Linked DNA regions of Homo sapiens: region 1 is linked to region 2. Evidence: promoter capture Hi-C in 16 types of primary human blood cells and fetal thymus (Javierre and others, 2016). All regions are on one chromosome and are shown on one strand. Each heading gives the region's core, a stretch centred on a gene start or on the middle of the fragment in contact. The rest is flanking DNA. Distances are from core to core; before and after follow the strand shown. Region 1 has its middle 110 kb from the start of RPS6KA2. Region 2 holds the start of SFT2D1 (SFT2 domain containing 1).

What was found. Contacts are between HindIII fragments. The CHiCAGO score rates a contact against its expected background, and 5 or more counts as called.
Region 1: a fragment that was not itself captured here is called in contact with the fragment with the promoter of SFT2D1 in region 2 in 1 of 17 cell types (non-activated CD4 T cells); the score reaches 5.4 in non-activated CD4 T cells.

The regions. Positions count from the first base shown.
Region 1 is chr6:166,732,783-166,735,482 of GRCh38, forward strand. It overlaps a transcript of RPS6KA2 not described here. Among named protein-coding and RNA genes, the nearest start is that of RPS6KA2, 110 kb to the left of the region's middle. The HindIII fragment of the contact is 2,072 bases long and covers 274-2,345 here.
Region 2 is chr6:166,341,155-166,343,854 of GRCh38, forward strand. SFT2D1 (SFT2 domain containing 1) reads right to left here and starts at 1,391. Exons shown (of 8, transcript NM_145169.3): 1 at 1,265-1,391. The coding sequence starts at 1,327. It overlaps LOC100289495 (a long non-coding RNA gene), which reads left to right and starts at 1,477. Exons shown (of 2, transcript NR_040022.1): 1 at 1,477-1,993. RefSeq lists a silencer at 1,102-1,261 and an enhancer at 1,323-2,216. The HindIII fragment of the contact is 4,850 bases long and covers 857-2,700 here.

The DNA of each region.
Region 1 (2,700 bases), core at 60-2,559, 390 kb after region 2:
AGGGGGATGACAGGGGGAGCTGTGAAGGCCACCGGAGGCTGAGTCTGGTGGAAGGAGGCAGGGAACAGCCAAAGTGAAGGCTGCTCTGGTTCAAGTTGGTGTTCAAATAAAAGTAAGTCACAACAAAACAAAAGACCTGAAGTGAAGCCTGCTGGCTTAGAGGAAATGAGGAACCGGAGCGGCTGGGGTGCAGGGTGGGAGGCAGGGGTGCACACTTATGCATTTGCCCAGTTTTGCATCGGATTTCTGGAGGTTTGGGACCCTCTTTGCAGAAGCTTTCACGAGCCTAAGGGTGAGATGCTCTGCCCCCTGTGGATCGAGCCTACCCTGTACTCAGGGCCATGCCAAACCATTGCACATCATTTTGAGCCTTCAGAACATGATATCAAATTATACTTGGATGTCACATTATCGGCCAGAATGGGAGTACTTTTGAAAGCCTAATAGCCTTAGGCTGCAAGAGTCCTGTGGACGGCACTGTTCCCAAAGTCACAGACCCTTTATGGACATGCAGGACTGATGCCGCCACTGTCAGTAACAGCAGTGGTGTTGGCCGTCTTGATCAGTTTATTATGTCTTGGAACTCATCCTTGAATTAATTGGAATGTTCTTTTGCATTGTCGTCCAGGAAATTTAGAGGCCAACGAGGGCAGGATCTACTCCCAAAAAGACATAGGGACCCTTACAGTACGAGTTTTGGGTACTAACCCCATGGCTGACCTTTCTGATCTTTCCTCATTCGGATCTTATATTCCTTCTTCTCATCTCATTTTCTTCGTCTGATAATCTTAATTTTATCTTGTAGCATGTATGTATGGAAGCCAGTGCCAGTCTCTTTAGGAAAAAGGTTTGGTAACACGGAGGTCACTAGCATCCCTCGTGGACAGTTTCCATGGAATGTCCCAGGCACAGGTCACATTTCAGCGGGTTCCGGAGCTCACTCTAAGTGGGGAAGTGGAGGCTGCCCTGGTAGGTGCCATCCCTAAACTGTTTGGGAGAGAAGAGGAAGAGAGAAGTAAAAGGAAGGTTTCTGCGTTTTTCTGTTTATAAAGCGGATATGAGCAGGTTTACAGGCTGAACAGAGTAAACCAATAGAAAGAGAAATGGTAAAATGAAAAACTGAGATTTCTAAGGAAACTGTAGGGTGTGGAGTAGGATCACTGCTAGGGTGTGGGAACAGAGGACTGAGGGGTGTTGACCTCCAAAAGCAAAGGTGCATGCAAGCGAAGGGACATTGGTAAGAGGGAGGCAGGAAGTTGAGGTAAGCTGATAGATTGCTTCAATTTTCCCCAACAATAGGATATGAGATCACCTGTTTAGAGGTTGGGACAGGCCCTGAGGGGAGAGAGGAAAGTTAGGTATGGCCCCTGAGGGGCAAGGGGGCCGAGGGCTCCTGGCAGGAGCTTAGGATTCATGGCTAGCAGCAATTCTCACTCTTCTTACTAGTTTATAACTCCCATTAGCAGAACCCGAGCACTCTTGCCTCGTATACCTGTTTCTCTCCTTAGCAGGGGTCTAAGATGTTGACATCGACCCTTTGGAGTAAGGGTTTATACTGACATGAATTCTCAACTCAAGATTTTCTCCCTAAGGGCCACCTACCCAAACGGAAGAGCAATAGGTCCTCTTTTCCATATTCAGGTGCTAGGAAATAAACGTAAGCTATCAGCAAGCCATCACCATCTTACCATCCAATGGTATATAATTACTCTGTGCTCACAAGCAGCGGCTGATATTGGTGAAGTAATTAGGAGGTTCCCGGCAATCATTTCTTTCATGTCCCAATTAAGACACTCAGCCATTGTTCATTAGGGGTGTTAAGAAAGTCAATGAATTTAAGCACAGGTCTGTGGGGCCTGAAGCACTGCAAGAGTCACTGGGGGCGTGCTGATTTTCCCTGTGACAATGTGCCTTATTCAACATGAGAGGGAGCGTGTGTGGCTGAGGCTGGCATACCTAAGACCATGGAACTGGTGCTAAGCAGTGCCCTGCTTTATTTATAAATCACTTCCTCCTTTGGGGGTACTTAAATATTTTATAAATTTGTCTCATAAAATGTTAAACATCCTCACCTTTACCATGACAGTGTTTTCACATACAGAATGAGAAAATATCACAGATTTTGAAAGTTCCTATCCTCTTGTTATGGCAATCAGTGAAACATTATTCAGTCAGAAAGAAGTCTCAGTTTAGAAACTGTAAACCTTTATGTCTATAGCCTTGCACTGCCACTGAATTTAGATCCAATTTCTGAATTATATCATTCACAAAAAGACCATCTTGGATTAAGTTTCCATCAAACTTGGAGAACTCTGAGAAGGCCCTAAGCGTGTCCATGCTGGAGAAGCTTTGGCAGGATAAGAAGAGCTGGAAGGGGCATCCTCCTGCCCAGCCACTCCGCTTCAGGCTGTGCTGCAGAGAAACTTCTGCACCCATCAACAAGGAAATATGTTTATAGCAATTATTTGCAAAAGCAAACAACGTGACACAAAACAAAACAAAAAACTGAAACAACGTGAACATCTATAGTAGGAATTGACAATACTCTCATGGCGGACTAGTCTCCATTTAGGGCAGCAGTCCCCAATCTTTTTGGCACCAGGGACTGGTTTTGTGGCAGATAATTTTCCATGGATGAGGGTGGGGGACAGTTTCAGGATGATTCAAGCACATGACATTTATTGTGTACTTTATTCCTAT
Region 2 (2,700 bases), core at 141-2,640:
ATTTAATTGCTCCAGGCGCAGTGGCTCAAGCCTGTCATCCAAGCACTTTGGGAGGTCAAGGTGGGCGGATCACTTGAGGTCAGGAGTTCGAGACCAGCCTGACCAACATGGTGAAACCCCCATCTCTACTAAAAACACAAAATAATTAGCAGGGCATGGTGGCAGGTGCCTGTAATCCCAGCTACTCAGGAGGCTGAGGCAGGAGAATTGCTTGAACCCGGGAGGCAGAGGTTGCAGCGAGTCGAGATCACGCCACTGCACTCCAGGCCTGAGCGACAAAGCAAGACTCCATCTAAAAAAAAAAAAAAAAAAAATTCATTGGCCACATGTGGCTGTGGTAATATACAGAGTTACAGAGTGCAATGAGAACAGATACTTGTCTTACACTCTCTGAACCCAAAACTGTAGCCCAGAACTCTACCCACACCAAGTGCTGAGTAAGTATAATGACAAGGAAGTCAGGAGAGACAAATAGAAGATCCTTATGAAATACAATTCAATTTTAAACGTCCAACTTCTGCGACAGCACACAATAACGTGCAATATAATCGCATGCAATAACAAAAAAACTTACACCGCAGTTCCTGCTCCACTGCTACTTTTAACCTTCTTGCTGGAGGAAGTAACCCTTATCAAGTCTCGCTGGTAAGGCGCAGACACAAGGGCTTTTATTAAGAAAAAAAAAAAAATCTCTTACCAGGGCTCACTGCCTTAACAGAAAAATTTTAATTCAATATTATTTCACTTACCAATGTCCTGTTTATTTTTCCTCCAGTCTCCCTATTTCCAAAAGACCACCCCCCAGCAAACACACACATAACACCACCTTTACCTCCAAAGACAAACAGATGCAACAAGCTTTAGGGTCTCGGCTCACTGCAGCTTGCAGGATAAATGCCCTGCATAGCTACTTACGCTGCACAGCCCGAGGCCAGACCCCGCACCAGGCTCAGAAAACCAAATAGTACGTGGGAGCGATGGATTATTTGGGAAAGCGAGGGCAGACGTTAGCGGATTCCTAAGTCAGAAGGCCAGATGGGAGAGTCGGGGGGGGGCCTCAAAGTGGGTTTAAGTAGACCGCATGGAAAACTGGAAAGTTCTCAAATTCTACCCAGGAAGCAGGCGGAGCCCTCCTAAATCAACCAGCCGGGCAGAGGAGTCCCAGACCCCCGGCCTCGCACCCACCCCACCCGCTCGGCCGGTCCTCAGTGCGGCCGGGGCCAGCGGGCAGCCCCGGGACTGGACGAGGGCGCAAGTTCGCTACCTGCGCAGTCAGGCCCTGCTCCTCGTCGTCCTGGCCGCTCAGGACTCGCCGCAGCTTCTCCATGGCCCTGTTACAGGGCCGTAGCGGCCGCCACTCTGTTGCCTGCCCCTGACGCCCACCAGGAAACCCCGAACCCGAAACCCCACAGACCAGCCGGAAGTCCGGTCCCGCCCGCTTCCTGTGCGTCAGCGCGGCCGCCGTAGCAATGCGCGCATGCTCACCAGCCTTTCTCTCGGACCCGGTAGTGGTCCGTGAAGTCCGCGGAGTGGGCGCTGATGGTGGGGCTATCCCTTCCCACTGTCCGCGAGGTGCGCCGTGGTAACGCGCGGGGACACAGCGCGGGTGTGGACCCCCTGCCCACAGCTGGCGCACAGCCATTGAGTGTAGACCCGACTGGGGCACGACCACTGAACCCTGCACTTGGCGTCCTCCGGGCCCCGCGAGGGGCCTTGCTGGGCGGGTCCGCGGCACCCCGGGTTCCCAGAAGTCGAGGCCCCGAATGCGCCTCCCCTCGCCTGGAATCGGAGAGCGGAGGGCTCCTGCGGGCAGGTGGCCGTGCTCCGAAGAGCGCCCTGCCACCCATGAGGTGGCCCTGGGGGCGTCGCTAGCCTTCCCAGCTGGGTGTCCTCATCCGGAGACACAAACACCTGCCTCAGGATTAAAGCGAGGAGCTGTATTTCAGACCGTCTCAGGAGAAATAGCAAGAGGCTGCCTCACTCCTTTGCCCTTGTGAGAGCTATTTCTTTACTCAGTTCACTGGTCAGCTAGGAGTTTGAAAGAGTGAAATCTTATTTATAAAAGGAATAGCTAATGCAACCCATTTTTCCAGTTTTGTGTGAACAGTGAAACCATTGAACAAGCGTTTACTGTTCTCCGGCTCGTGCTGGATGAACAAACACTAAGAAATGGGGAAGTGGCATTTTTCTCTCTCTCATTTTCCACCATGCTAAGAAAGGAGATTAAAAATCAGGGCTGCCTGTCTAATATGGTCTCCAGAAGTCATTAAGTGATAGGTTTTGCTCTTCTGTTTGCTTCTAGGCTTGGTAAGATGGTAATGAGAATGCCTGTTCTTTTGATTACTTTGCCCACTCCATTTCCTCCCTAAAATCTTTCAGTTAAAAGGTGGATCCTCAAAAAGTTTCATTGTCCATCCTACTGCCTCAGTAGAGATTTTATCTAAACTCAATTAGATAAAAACAAATACCACAGGAACCCTAGGAAAGCAAGTCGCGCCTTCTTGTGATGAAACGGTCCAATGCTCAGCATCCTTTTCCTTTAGGCAGAAGATATTTCTATGTGGCCTGTTCATACTAATATGAGAAGTCTTATCCTTATGTCCTTAACTTTAAAAGGTCAGAAAATAGATTGTAAAATCTATAGAATAAAACTATGTTTCTGTTGAATAAGAGAGTATGTCCGTAAGTGTTACGGGAAAG